Linked DNA regions of Homo sapiens: region 2 is linked to region 1. The links are contacts of gene promoters, found by promoter capture Hi-C in human tissues and cell types (Jung and others, 2019). All regions are on one chromosome and are shown on one strand. Each heading gives the region's core, a stretch centred on a gene start or on the middle of the fragment in contact. The rest is flanking DNA. Distances are from core to core; before and after follow the strand shown.

Region 1 (7,386 bases), core at 2,830-5,329:
TCTATTTTGTATAATGGAAGCTATCTCAATTCATCAAATAAATACAAAACAATTCCAACACACATATTTATTATCTCACAGGTCTCATGGGTCAAAGTATAGCTTATACTGACCCTAGGCTCAGGGTCTGATTTACTTTCTTTCTTCTTCTTTTTTTCTTTCCGAGATGGAGTCTGGTTCTGTCACCCAGGCTGGAGTGCAGGGGCTTGATCTCAGCTCATTGCAACCTACACCTCCCTGGTTCAAGCAATTTTCATGCCTCAGCTGCCTGAGTAGCTGCGATTACAGGCGCATGCCACCATGCCTGGATAGTTTTTGTAGTTTTTAGTAGAGACGGAGTTTCATCATGTTGGCCAGGCTGGTCTCGAACTCCTGACCTCAAGTGGTCTGCCACCTTGGCCTCCCAAAGTGCTAGGATTACAGGCATGAGCCACCGCACTCGGTCTGATTTACTTTCATTTAATAACAGACTATTTCTTCATTTGTTTATCGGCCGCTTATTTATTTCCTTTTCTGGGAACTTCCTGTTCCATTTCCTTTTCTCATTTTTCTATTAGTTTTCTTTTTACTTAATGACTTCTTACTTAATGACAAAGAGCTCTTTAGACATTAAAGAAACTAAGTCTATTGCAGTGTATTGGGAATGTTTTTCCAGCATGCCCTCTGACTTTATTTATCATGAGAAGTTCTTAATTTTCAGGTAATCAAATATATAAAACTTTTTCTTTGTCTTTTTGGCTTCATAACTTATCACCATGCTAATATTTTTACTTTTTTTCTTCTGGCAAATCAGGCAGCATCCTGAACCACAAATGGTTCAGAGCAACTCCCACCATACTGATATATTCATTCATATCTTCTCTTACTCATTTTAGAATTTTTTAATTTTTACATTTAAATATCTGATTATCAAAAGATTACTTAGATGGGTAGGATGAATACAGCTTAATTTTGTCCCAAGTTCCAAATGGCTTGCCAATAGCCCCAACATCACGGATTTAAAAGCAAGTCCCAGACACAGCATGGTGGCTCACACCTGGAATCCTAGCACTTTTGGGAGGCCAAGTCGGGCAGATCCCTTGAGCCCAGGAGTTCGAGACCAGCCTGGGCAACACGGCCAAATCCTGTCTCTACAAAAAAATACAAAAATTAGCTAGGTATGGTGACGAGTGCCTGTAGTCCCAGCTACTTGGAAAGCTGAGGTGGGAGGATCCACTGAGCCTGGGAAGTCAAGGCTGCAGTGAGCCGTGATCGCACTACCGCACTCCAGCCTGTGTGACAGAGCAAGACCCCATCTCAAGATATATAATAAAATTAAAATAAAATAAAAATAAAAGCAAGGCCATACATGATGACATACTTCACCCATACACATAGCCCTAACCTCATCTGCTATAATTAATTCTCCCTCCTACTCCATTAACAGCCACTCTGTTCTCTTTGTGGCTCCAAACACACCAGCCATACTCCCACCTAAGGGCGATTGCCCTGGCTTCTTCCTCTGCCTGAACACTCTTCCCCAGATATCCACCTGGGTTGCTCTTTCACTTCCTTCGGTCTCTGCTTAAACATCAGCTTATGAGAATGACCTTCTCTTATCATCCTATAGGAAAAACCTCCTCCCCAACCCTTACACTCTGAATTATTTTTCTCTATAGCCCTTACCACTCCCCAGCTAGCATGTTATAAGCTCCAGGACCACAGGGACTTTTATTTATTGTTATATTCCAGCAGGACCACAATGTCTGGCACTCAAATTTCTGCTGAATGAATGAAGCTGAAATGTCACTTTTACCAAAACAAAATTCCTACTAAGCATACTGAACAGGAGAAAAAGATTTTACTCCCCAGACTTCAAGTGTTAAATGGAGTAGTCATACAGGCAAAGAAAAGGTGGGAGGATTACGGAGGGGGAGGAGAAGCAGCATGCCTCTTTAAACAAAAGGGTCTATCGGTTTAAGTTATCAATGCCAGGTACGTCACCAAGTACATCTTAACAGACTCGTTCTGTATCCTAGACATACTGAACCCCAATTTTCAATTCAACTGCATTAAAAACTCACTTCACCTAAGCAAGACCAGGAAGAGACCTTCCAACTGCCGAGAACCTTCTTAAGTCCATAGGCATTCAGTTACGCCAGAGCATTAAAGTAAGTCTGGTACGCCTTTATACTGAATCTACCTGAACATAACAGCAATCTTTTTTAAAAAGGAGTCTGTGGAATATCTCTTAAAAGAAACACAAGAAGCCAGTTAGCCCGTGGGTAGCTGGTGGACAGGAAGGACGAGATAATTTTTTTTTTTTTTTGAGATGGAGTCTTGCTCTGTCACCCACGCTGGAGAGCAGTGGCGCAGTCTCGGCTCACTGCAACCTCCGCCCCCCGGGTTCAAGCAATTCTCCTGCCTCAGCCTCCTGAGTAGCTGGGACTACAGGAACTCTCCGCCACGGCCGGCTAATTTTTGTATTTTTAGTAGGGGCGGCATTTCGCCATGTTGGTCAGGCTCGTCTCGATCTCCTTACCTCAGGTGATCCGCCCGCCTCGGCCTCCCAAAGTGCTGGGATTACAAGCTTGAGCCGCCGCGCCCGGCCAAGAGAGAATTTTCTATATACTTTTTGTAACTTTTGAATATAGAACCATGTCAATATTCTAGTCAATGGTAAAGTAAATTAAAACTAGACCAAGAAGCTGGGTGTGATGGCTCACGCCTGTAATCCCAACACTTTGGGACACCGAGACGGGAGGATCGCTTGAGCCCAAGAGTTCGAGACCTGTCAGGGCAACACAACGAGACCCCCATCTCTACAACAATTTTTTTTTTAATTTAGCGGGACGTGGTGGCGCGGGAGTGTAGTTCCAGCTACTTGGGAGGCTGAAGCCGGAGATTCGCTTGAGCCCAGGAGGTCCAGGATGCAGTAGGTCGTGATCGCGCGGCTGCATCACAGCCTGGGCGACGGAGCGAGCCCCCACTCAAAAATTAAAAAATAAAAACGACGAGAGGCCAGACGTGGTGGCTCACTCCTGTAATCCCAACACTTTGGGTGGCCGAGGCAGGAGGATCGCTTGAGCTCAGGAGTTCAGACCAGCTTAGGTAACAGAGACCCATCGCAAAAAAAGAACAATAATAAACAACAAGGGAGCGAGAAGGCAAGAAAATGGTGCAAATTTACCCGGATGTCAACAGGGGGCGGGGCCAAGCGCTGCTACCGAAGATGCCAAGATGGACGCCAGGCAGCCAGGAGAAAGATCCCAACCCCACCCGCGCAGATATCCGCGAGGCCCCGCGCTCAGCCTCCTCACCCCCGCTATCCGCGGCCTCCGGGTCCTCCTCCGCCTTCCGCTTGAGCTTCTGGGAGGAGGGGCTCACCGGCGCGTCCCCCAGCAGGTACTTATGCTCCTGGCCCCGCAGGTGCTTGAGGTAGCGGTCCTTCAGGGACTGCCACGAGTGCTGCGTGAGCGAGCTCTTCTCCATCGCTTTCCACAAGGCGTTACCGGTGACGGAGCTGGGCGAGCGGGCATTTTCCTTCACGTAGGTAAGGATGGCTACGTCGTCCGCATCCGTGAAGGCGATCCGCCCGGCGTGCCGCTGCGGCTCCGGCTCCGCGGCGCCCTCGGCCAGGGCCCCGGGCTTTGCTTCCGAGCCGGTGTCCGCCGCCGAGGCGGGGCCCAGCCGATAGGCCTCCAGCTCCAGCCTCTCGTTGCGCTCCACGCAGTCCAGGATGTACTGCGTGGAGATGAAATCACCCGAGGCCTCGGCCAGCGCCTCCCCGGGCTGGGCCAGCAGCACGGCCCCGGGCTCCTGCACTCGGCACACGGTGCCGCCGCCGTGCAGGATGAGCGTCGACAGCCGACGCTTGGCCGGGCTGGGCCGCACGTAGAAGGACATGGAGCTGCCGTCGTCCCTCACGAACAGAGTCGAGGAATGGGTGGGCCCGTTGGGGTCTTTGCCCAAATCCATCGCCTCCGCCATGTCTGACGCCGAGCACTACTAGAAGAGCTACCCCCTCGCGAGCGCCTGGCACACAGAGCTCAACTGACTGAGCTGTCACCGCAGACGCCTCTGCCGCGAAGCGCAGCACTGGGCCTGCGCAGCAGCAGCCGCGGCGCATCGAGAGTGCCCGCCCCCTCTCCCCCGGAAGAGGTGGGGCTTCGCACCTTGACCTGGAAATTAACGTACTATCCTCCTTACTTTTGGGTCGGGCCCTCCGGGAAGATGGCGGCCGTGCAGGCGGCCGAGGTGAAAGTGGATGGCAGCGAGCCGAAACTGAGCAAGAAGTGAGTGTCGCTGCGAGTCTTTAAAGCCTTTGCGGTAGGAGAGTCTGGGCTGGGAAGCGCCGCGAGGTTCCCACCAAGGCTGCTGTGCCGGGGCCTTCTTGCCGGCTCTCGTGGGTACGCACATGCTGAGACGTGGTGGCTGCGCCCTGCAGACCACGTACCCCGGGATACCCCGGGCACGCCGGCTCCCCGTTCCCAGCTGGCACCGGCGGGATGCTCCCTATCATACTCCTAGAGTTAAGAGACTGTGGAGGAGGAACTAGGACGAGAACTAAGAGTTATCAGAAAAGAAAAGCGAAACTTCCTGCTTAGCTTCATCCTCCTTTCTGAGAAATGCATTCTTTTGTTGAGCCACTCAGTAAACGTGGAAGTTGGAGAAATGTTAAATACCCTAGCTTTTCAGAAAGACCTTCAAAATTTTCTGGGCCTCACTAAGGTCATTCTGAACGTTATGTATTAAAAGGGATCAGTTCTAAAACTGTCATGCATCTACCCGTATGGGTTATTCAGTAGATACCTGTGAGTATTAAGTGATCAACGTCTAACAGTAGAGACCATCTTAATTCAGCCTGATATCTTTGTTAACCACTCCCAAATCCCTGGAGTATGTAGGTTAACATAGATAAGTCAGGATTAGCCACCCTTTAACTGGCTGTCTTATATTCTCATTAGCGTTCCCCATTTGAACCACAGAACACAGGTAATTGAGTGTTTTATCATTGCTAGGAAGATGGTACATAGTACCATTCCAGAGGCATACGAGAGGGCTTAATCCCCGTGGCGCGCACTTGTTATCCCAGCTACTCGGGAGACTGAGGCAGGAGAATCGCTTTAACCCAGGAGGCGGAGGTTGCAGTGTGCTGAAGTCGTGCCACTGCACTCCAGCCTGGGAGACTTGAGGTAGTGGTCCTTCAGGGACTGCCAGAAGTGCTGCGTGAGCGAGCCCTTCTCCATCGCTTTCCCCAAGGAGTTACTGAGACGGAGCCAGACCCTGAATGAAAAAGAAAAGAGAAATGATGTTTCTTTTTTTTTTTTTTTAAGATGGAGTCTCGCTCTGTCGCCAGGCTGGAGTGCAGTGGCGCGATCTCAGCTCACTGCAACCTTCGCTGCCAGGGTTCAAGCGATTCTCCTGCCTCAGCCTCCCGAGTAGCTGGGATTACAGGCGTGTGCCACCATGGCTGGCCAATTTTTGTATTTTTAGTAGAGACAGGGTTTCACCATGTTGGGCAGGATGGTCTCAATCTCGTTACCTTGTGATCCGCCCACCTTGGCCTCCCAAAGTGCTGGGATGACAGGCGTGAGCCTGAGCCACCACCCCTGGCCTGATGTTTCCTTTTGTGTCCCTGGCTTTGTGCTTCAAATATCTTAGAAAAAGTATAAGAGAAATTGTCGAAGTTTATAGTTGGGTAGGACCTTAATATATTGTCCTTTATTAGAGCAATCCGATGGACTTCCATAAAAGTTTGGAACCTGGTCTTTGGACTGCTACCTTAGAGAAAATTGACTTGACTTTATTAAGTCAAATTTAATTGAATGTGGTATATCTGTGATATACGATCCTAAAGTTTAGTTCATTCTTTCAAACCACCTATGATAATCAATTACATTGAATTGAACTTTAGGACTGTATATCACAGGTGAAAGCACGGTTTCCAGTTCAGAGTGTGTTTTTAGGTAAACGGAAAAAACTGGTTAATTCCTCTTTACTGACTTTTTTTTTTTTTTTTTTTTTTTGGAGGCAGAGTCGTTGTTGCCCCGGCTGGATTGCAGCGGTGCGATTTCAGCCCACGGCAACTTGCAACTCCCGGGTTCAAGCAATTCTGGTGCTTCAGCCTCCCAAGTACCTGGGACTACAGGTGCATGCCACAACACCCGGTTAAATTTTTGTGTTTTAGTAGAGACGGGATTTGACCTTGTTGCCCAGGCTGGCGTCAAACTGCTGAGCTCAGGTGATCCGTCCGCCTCAACCCCACAAAGCGCTAGGATTATAGGCGTGAGCCACCACTCCCTGCTTCACTGACTTTTCTAAAATTAAATACAGCTACTACTTTTTTGACCAGCTTTTCTGTGCCAGGCACAATGCTAGATCTCTACAAGCTTTCTGTCTAGTGTCAGTAATAACCTTGCAAGAGGAGTTATTGTCCATTTTTCAAATTAATAAACTGAGGTCCTAGTAATTAAATGCACTATTAAAGTGTGCATTCCTAAAATATAGTCTAGCAGTGATCCAGAGCACTGGAGCACGGATCTGAACTCAGGCCTGTGACTCCACAGTCCATGCTCTGTATCCTGACTGCACAGCACTACTCACGTTGTCTTACCTGTCATTGATGTCTATTCCTCTCGTTACCATGAGCTAAAATAATTTTTTTCTGATTAACATTTCCTTCCGTTTATTGTTCTGGGGAATTCCTTGGTCTGAAATTTTTAGTAAGCACCATTTTGTGCCAGGTATTGACTCCAAGTTTAAAAGCAGATGTGCTCCCTGCCCGAGTGAAATAGCCTCCTCAAATTTATTTGAACACGGTAAAGAAGGTGATCTCTGTAATTCTGTTGCCTTCCAGTGTTGATAATGTATAAACATAACGCAGTCTAAGGACCTTCCTGAAATTCTCCTTTCCCCTTGTTCCTAGAGTTCCAAACAAGTCTTCTCTTTGACACGTATTTTTGTGTGGCTTGCATTTATCTTTGTCTAGAGTTTGCAATTGATAGTGACAGTTTCCTCTTATTTTATATGCTTCCTATTGCCATCTTGTGGCCAGGTATTTCCTCTCCAGGTGAGAAACCACACTTCAGGGCTTCAGAAAGTGCCTCACATCCTGTTCCCATATTCTAGGATGTTGTGAGCAATTTTACCTGTAAGCTATCCATTAACTTGCTGTTGGCTTTACCCCAGATATGCATGTTTTTTCCATAGTCAGGACTAAGAACATTGTCAGTTACAGTTGTAGCACAGAGAGTGTTACAGGGTTGCTATCAGTTAAGACAGTCTTAAGTTAAATGGGACTAAAAGGTAGTAGAAGCATGGTCCCCCTCCCCAACCCATAAGAGAGTTGGTTGGGTATATGTATACTGTCTGTCCCATCTGACACCACATCTCTGTGTTTCCCGC
Region 2 (7,386 bases), core at 1,648-4,147, 990 kb after region 1:
TTCTGACACACAATTCTTGGGAGACTGTCGTTGTACCCTAGAAACATTAAAAGCTTTTAGTTAGGCAGCTGCAGTAGCTCACTCCTGTAATCCCAGCACTTTGGGAGGCTGAGGCAGAAGGGTTGCTTGAGCCGAGGAGTTGAAGACCAGCCTAGGCAACGTGGGAAACCCCATCTATACAAAAAATGTTTAAAACTTGAAGTATCTCACATTGTTCAGTTTGCAGACTTTCTTTCCCACTTATTTTCAGTACTGTGCCACTCTCCATCCTGAGTGTAAGCCTGTGTGGTTCAAACCTCCAGTTTTCTCGTGCATAGGGGGAGAAGGGCTTTGTTCTGTGTTTTGTTTTAGCTGGCTGGTGTTTGAGTAGGAGTCAAGCTAACTGCTTTACTGGCTTTTAACCAGCCCTTCTCTTTTAGCGCCATCTTTCAATATTGCCTTTTGTGGTACCTGGTTTTTACAGTCCCTTTAGTGGGAATCAGCTTGCTTCTCAATAACACACCTCACCCCAACCACTGTGCCCTTTGCAGGCTTTGAGTTTTATCTTTTGGCTCTGCTAAGCAGTCATCAATCATCAGTTTCTCCTTTATGGCCTTAAAAAACTGGTTTGCATATCATACCCTGTTTGCATTTGTGTCGTCCTGGTTAATTTATCCTTTCTTAAAAAAATGTCTCAGGTTGTGGGGGTCATGTTCGTGGGTTTTAGGAATGACTGGAGTGGAGAGAGAAAGATACATATATGTACTTCGTCCACTATGTTTATTAGAATTCCTTCCATTTATTCAGCCTGCACCAGTCTGGCCTCTGACCCCACCACTTCAGGGAAACTGCTTTTTTAGGTCACCTGTCATCCTCATGTTGCCAAATCTAGCGGCCGTTCTTCCCCCCAGTAGCACTTGACACTCAATTGTTCCTTCCTTGAAACATTGTTTTTCCAAGACACCACATTCCCATGTTTCCTCCTACTTTATAATCTTCCTTAACTGGCTTCTTTTACTCTGTTGTACTTTTAACAGTAGTGTCTCTGACTTTAGTCTTCAGCCCTCTTCTGTCATTCTGTTCCTCAGGTGGTTTAATCTGCTTTGATGATTTTAAGAAACATGAGTATTGGCCGGGCGCGGTGGCTCATGCCTATAATCCGAGCACTTTGGGAGGCTGAGGCTGGCAGATCACCAGGTCAGGGGATCGAGACCATCCTGGCTAACACAGTGAAACCCCGGCTGTACTAAAAATACAAAAAATTAGCCAGGCGTGGTGGCAGGCACCTGTAATCCCAGCTACTCGGGAGGCTGAGGCAGGAGAATGGCGTGAACCCGGGAGGCGGAGCTTGCAGTGAGCCGAGATCGCGCCACTGCACTCCAGCCTGGGCAACAGAGCGAGACTCCATCTCAAAAAAAAAAAAAAAGAAGCATGACCATTCTGAAGATTCTTAAAGCTGTCTGTTTGTTTTCATCTCCACTGCTACCACTCTTGCCTAGGTCTCTCTGACCTCTGGTCTGGACTCCCACAATAGCCTCTACACTGGTCACCTAGCTTATGCTCTTGCACCCCTACAGTGCATTCCTAACATAGAAGAAACTCCTTACCAAGGCCCATAGGCCCTTTAATAATGGTGTCCTGTTCATCAGTGAAACCCATGCTCATCAGGGACCTATGCACTGATTTCCTTCTGAGACTCTTCTTGGCTCTTTGCATAGCCAGCTGCTTTTAATCCTTCATGCCTCAGCCCAATTTTCACTCTTTAAAAGAGTACTTCCCTCACAATTGTGTCTTAGTTGGTCCTCTTTGTCTCCTCAACCCCAAACATCATAATCTATAATTTTTTTCATGTATTTGTTTATTGACATCTTACTTGCTAGAATCTAAACTCTGATACATGGGGTCTTATCTGTTTTTGCCTCTAGGGTGTCTTGTCTGCATAACAGGTGCTTAATAACTATTAGTTGAACCCCCATTTCCTCATAAGTCAGATGAAAATAAAAGCACGTGCCTTACTTCACAAAGTAATTAAGGGGATAAGTTATACTGATGTACTTTAAAAACTAGGTGGTAGGGAGGCACAGTGGCTCAGTCCTGTTGTCCTGATGCATGAGGAGGTAAGGCCAGGCATTCAAGACCAGTTTGGGCAACATAGGAAGCCTTCATCTATATAACAAAAAAAAATTTTTTTTTTTAGTTTAAAAACTAGGTGGTAGTTTTCAAACTGATACAATGGAATTAAAGATAGGAAACATGAAAAGAACATAGGTGCTTAATAAATATTTGTTGAATACGCTAACATGATGGAATTAGAGATGGAAAACAAAAATAATGAAAGGGATAGGATAAAGTTTGCTCAGCCTTTTTGGAAACATTAGGTAAGTTTCCATTTTGAGTTAGTAACAGTTAATTTTGCAAGTGTAAAAAATGTCCTTTCTCTATTTATCCCTTGTAACTGTTGATGCTGTGAAAGATTAATATTGCCTGCTAAAATTAGATACTGCATTATATGCATTTGATTTTGGTGAATGTCCATATTCAGCTTGAGAGAACTGCAAAGTGTCTGAGAGATTACTTTTAGACCCAGTAGTTTAATCTCCTTGGTTTATAGATCTTTCTATTTTGGAAGATACTACTATGATCACAGGACTTCATGTTTTCTAAGGGCAAACCGGAAAACTGGTTATAAATGCTTGTTATAGAGAGGAAAGTCCATTACCAAACACTTCTGACTTAAGTAGTTAAAATCTTCTCTTGAAGCTTCTCAGTCTTGCTAAGAATGATATTAAACATAAAATCAGAAAGATTAAATATGATTCTGTCACCTACATAGCATGTTTTATCTATTTTATTAATACTTTTTACAAATACTGTTTCTCTAGTGATGGCTCATGAAGCAATGGAATATGATGTTCAGGTGCAGTTAAATCATGCCGAACAACAGCCAGCTCCTGCTGGCATGGCCAGCAGCCAAGGGGGACCAGCCCTCCTCCAGCCTGTTCCTGCTGATGTGGTCAGCAGCCAGGGGGTACCATCCATCCTCCAGCCAGCTCCTGCTGAGGTGATCAGCAGCCAAGCGACACCACCCCTGCTCCAGCCTGCTCCGCAACTGTCTGTTGACCTGACAGAAGTGGAGGTCTTGGGAGAAGACACTGTGGAGAACATCAATCCAAGAACTTCAGAACAACATAGGCAGGGATCTGATGGTAATCACACCATCCCAGCATCTTCGTTGCATTCAATGACCAACTTCATCAGCGGACTGCAGAGACTTCATGGCATGCTGGAATTCCTGAGACCTTCATCTTCAAACCACAGTGTAGGGCCAATGAGAACAAGAAGGAGGGTATCTGCTTCACGGAGGGCAAGAGCCGGAGGGTCTCAGAGGACAGACAGTGCCAGGTAAATAAATATATGGATAAGTCTGTGATCATTGCTGTACTAGAAATTATGAAACTGAGGCTCTGCCATTCAAGGACTGACAGTGTGACTTTTGGCAAGTCAGGTAACTTCTGACCCCCAGTTCCTCATAGGTGGAAATAAAAGTGCTTGCCTTACTTCACAAAGTAATGAAGGGATAAGTTAAACTGTTGTGCCTTGAAAACTAGGTGGTAGTTTGTTGGCAATCTCTGTAGAGATTGGCTGTTGTTCAGATTGTGTCTTGTACACCAAAAATTCTTTCTTCACTTGCAAGTCTCTACTCACCCAAATTCATTATTCACTGGCATTCCACCTGGGGGCACAATTAATTAATTTTCTTTCATAGTCTTGGTTTGAACTTGCCTCTTGAAGGGCTTAGCTGTCAAGTCTTGACAGGGTTATTATGAAGAATAACAATTGCCTATACCCTGTCCGTTTTTTGGTTTTTTGTTTTTGTTTTTGAGACAGCGTCTCACTCTGTCGTCCAGGCTGGATTCCCGTGGCACAATCTTTGCTCACTGCAACCTCCATCTCCCAGATTCAAGCGATTCTCCTGCCTCAGCTTCCCCAGTACCTGGCATTACAGGCGCGTGCCACCACACCTAACTAATTAAACCTGTCTGTTTTTGGTTTTGTTTTGTTTTGAGATGGAGTCTCACTCTGTCGCCCAGGCTGGAGCGCAGTGGTGCGATCTCCGCTCAGAGAGGGCTTTGTTCAGGGTCTCATAACTATAGAATAGAGGAGTTAGCACTGATATTGGAGCCTGGATCTGCCCTGTTTTCTACATAGGCAGATGGAGGAAGCTTCGACGAAATCCCTTTGTTTTCTCTTTCTTCTTGTTTTTATTATTGTTATTTTTGAGACAGGGTCTCACTGTGCTCCCCAGGCTGGAGTGCAGTGGTGCAATCACAGCTCACTGCAGCCTCGACCTCCCCAGGCTTAGGCGATCTTCCTACCTCAGCCTCTTGATGATTAACTGGGACTACAGGCATACGCAACCATGCCGATGTTTTCTAACACTGTGAAAATATTGAGATGATACTAAAAAGTGGTAGCTAGGTCATCTATTACCCATGTTTTACAAATGAGGAAGCTGATGGGATAATTTGTGATTTGGTTGTGATAAGGCTGGAATTGGAATTGTGCCTTCTGTATCTGGATTCAGCATTCTTTTTCATGGATCCTGCTGATTTTAATGTTGGGGCTTGCCATGACTGTGGCTCCAGTGTCTGTAGTGCCCATCAAGGATGACAGATGCCTAGTTCTGTGTTGACAAGAGTTGCAAATGCATATTACTCTGGGTTTTTTTTTTGTTTTTAAGACAAGAGTCTTGCTCTGTCACTCAGGCTGGAGTGCAGTGGCGCAGTATCAGCTCACCAGGACCTCTGGCTCCCGGGTTCAAGCGATTCTTGTGCCTCAGCCTCCTAAGTAGCTGGGATTGCAGGCGTGCACCAGCAGGCTTGGCTATAGTCTGTTGTTTTAAGATGTCATTACTCACGTTATAAAGGCAGGGTAAGATTTCATACATTTGTGTTATAGGTGAAGGCACCTTATGGTGTAATTTGGGGACCCTCCCAAAGTAAATGGGCTAACTTTCCATGGTTGAGAGTTGTGAGTGGTGTTTCCAGGAGCTGGCTGACTGTCAGGAGGCCTCTTGCAAGTCCTCAGTCTTGCTTATCCATGCACTCATTCTTGTTGGGGGACGCAGAGTGGATTCCTCTTGGTCAAGCACAGTGACTTGTATTAACCAACTTAAGGGTGACACTTATAAACCAGATGCCAACTTACAAAGAAAAACAGAACCACTAGAGAGCCAAACAGAAGCCAAACTCTAGTGAGAAAATTGCTTGATGTGGCTGGGCATAGTGGCTCACGCCTGTAATCTCAGAACTTTGAGCGGCCAAGGCAGGCGGATCCCTTTAGGCCAGGAGTTCGAGGCCAACATGGTGAAACCCCATCTCTACTAAAAATACAAAAAATTAGCCGGGCGTGGTGGCACACACCTGTGGTCCCAGCTACTTGGGAGGTTAAGGCATGAGAATTCCTTGAACCTAGGAGGCGGAGCTTGCAGTGAGCCAAGATCTTGTCACTGTAATCCAGCCTGGGTGACAAGAGTGACTCTCTGTCTCAAAAAAAAAAAAAAAAAATTATAGAATCTGCTCAGGGAATGAGTTATACAGAATTTAAATGTTGAAAGATGTCAGTCAAGCTATTTGGCAGCCATAATCTGTCTCCACAAAGGGAATAACCTAAACGGTCAGGAAGTGTGCAGTTCAGTGGAAATTACATCAGTTCTGGAGCCAGGTAAATGTGATTAAAACTTTTTTCCCTGAAGTATGACCTTTCCCAGGACTAATCGCTTATAACTTCTGAATTTCTTGAGATGAATTTCTCAGTGTGGTGTTTGACATTTACTCATCTGACAGACTGTCCCTGGGCCAGGTGTTGAAAGCCTGGGCCAAGGTGAACAGCTTTTGACTCACAGTCAGCCAAGAAGCCAAAGCTATGGAAAGCTAAGTAGTGAGCTTATTCTTCCCAACAGGCTTAGCTGAGGTCACAAACTCCTTTCTGATTTGTTTGGGGCGGTTTCATTCTGGCAGTGGGGGTCATCACTCATTCATCAAATATTGATAACACTCCTCTGTGTGAGAGACTAAACTTTGCCCTAGATATATTGGTGAATAACACAGATCACAATATTGTTTTCCTGGAGCATACGGAGTCTAGGACTACAGAGAGTAGGGAAGGAGCAAAATTCAAAGTTGGTAAGTGCAGGGAAGGAGGAGAATTTCTTGGGTTCTAAATCTGTGCTCCCAAAGAGAAACCCTAGCACTGCTTCCTGTTGGTTTTCACAGTTCCCCTTTCCTGTGTTCTTGCCTGACTTTGGAAATTCTTTGCTACATAAAAGCAATATTAAAGAGTGATTTTTTTTAATCGTCTATCACTTTTTTACTGGGTTCTATGTAGAATTCTATTGATATACGTGTCAACACCCTAACTCTAGTATGTATTTGATTAAATCTTCTTATGAAATGCTTTTCTTATGTGTTTAGTCTCATGGTAGCTATAGCTGCTGTTCACTTAGAATCTCAAGAAATGGAGTTGGTAAACTTGCTTAGCACTGTCTAAAAAGAAAACCTGGCTAGGCGCAGTGGCTCACACCTGTAATCGCAGCATTTTGGGAGGCTGAGGCAGGCGAATCACCTGAGGTCACGAGTTCGAGACCAGCCTGGCCAACATGGTGAAACCCTGTCTACTAAAAATACAAAAATTAGTCGGGTGTGGTGGCGGGTGCCCATAATCCCAGCTGCTCAGGAGACTGAGGCAGGAGAATCGCTTGAACCCGGGAGGTGGATGTTGCAGTGAGCCGAGATTGCGCCACTACACTCCAGCCTGGGCCGCAGAGCGAGACTCCGTCTCAAAAAAAAAAAAAAAGAAAAAGAAAACCTGGGTGATGTCAGTGAAAATGGCAGAGTAAGGACCACAGAGAATTATCTCCATGGAAGTAGTGAAACAACTGGCAGAATTTGTCAGGATCAACTTTTTCATAATTCAGGAAACTGACCAAATGCTTATAGCAATCCAGGGAGTGATTATTAAAGAAAAACAGCCGAATCTCATTGAGCTCTATGGCATTCCTTATTCTTGTCACCTTCTCCAGCTCCTTGATAGTTGTGAAAAGCATCTGCCTGTAATCATAGTAAAAACCAACAGCCTGGCAGGCACCAGAGGGATTGGAGCACCTTCAAAGCCTCATTCCCAGAGAATTATCTTTATATGACCTGTTGGTGGTTCTCTGGAAAACCCCATTTGCAAGACTACTCTTGACTCTGAGCAATGCAGAGTGTGAAAAGCCTAAATCATTTTCCCTGGGGCCTGCCTGAGGTAATGGATATTCAGTGGGATAAGCAATAAACTAACCAATAAGAAGGAAAGGAAAATCTAGGAATGAGATCAATTCAGTCACATCTTCTAAGTCTAGTTCTC

The links. Contacts are between HindIII fragments. The study calls those that stand out against the background at their distance.
Region 2: a fragment that was not itself captured here is called in contact with the fragment with the promoter of TERF2IP in region 1 in 1 of the 25 tissues and cell types used here (dorsolateral prefrontal cortex).

What each region holds. Positions count from the first base shown.
Region 1 is chr16:75,644,466-75,651,851 of GRCh38, reverse strand. TERF2IP (TERF2 interacting protein) reads right to left here and starts at 4,079. Exons shown (of 3, transcript NM_018975.4): 1 at 3,300-4,079. The coding sequence starts at 3,969. KARS1 (lysyl-tRNA synthetase 1) reads left to right here and starts at 4,187. Exons shown (of 14, transcript NM_005548.3): 1 at 4,187-4,274. The coding sequence starts at 4,213. RefSeq lists enhancers at 1,544-1,623, 2,202-3,157, 2,955-3,224, 3,158-4,115, 4,155-4,334 and a silencer at 3,535-3,654. The HindIII fragment of the contact is 7,104 bases long and covers 1,046-7,386 here.
Region 2 is chr16:74,656,927-74,664,312 of GRCh38, reverse strand. RFWD3 (ring finger and WD repeat domain 3) reads left to right here. Exons shown (of 13, transcript NM_018124.4): 2 at 2,862-3,381. The coding sequence starts at 2,864. Among named protein-coding and RNA genes, the nearest start is that of RFWD3, 6.3 kb to the left of the region's middle. The HindIII fragment of the contact is 6,343 bases long and covers 1-6,068 here.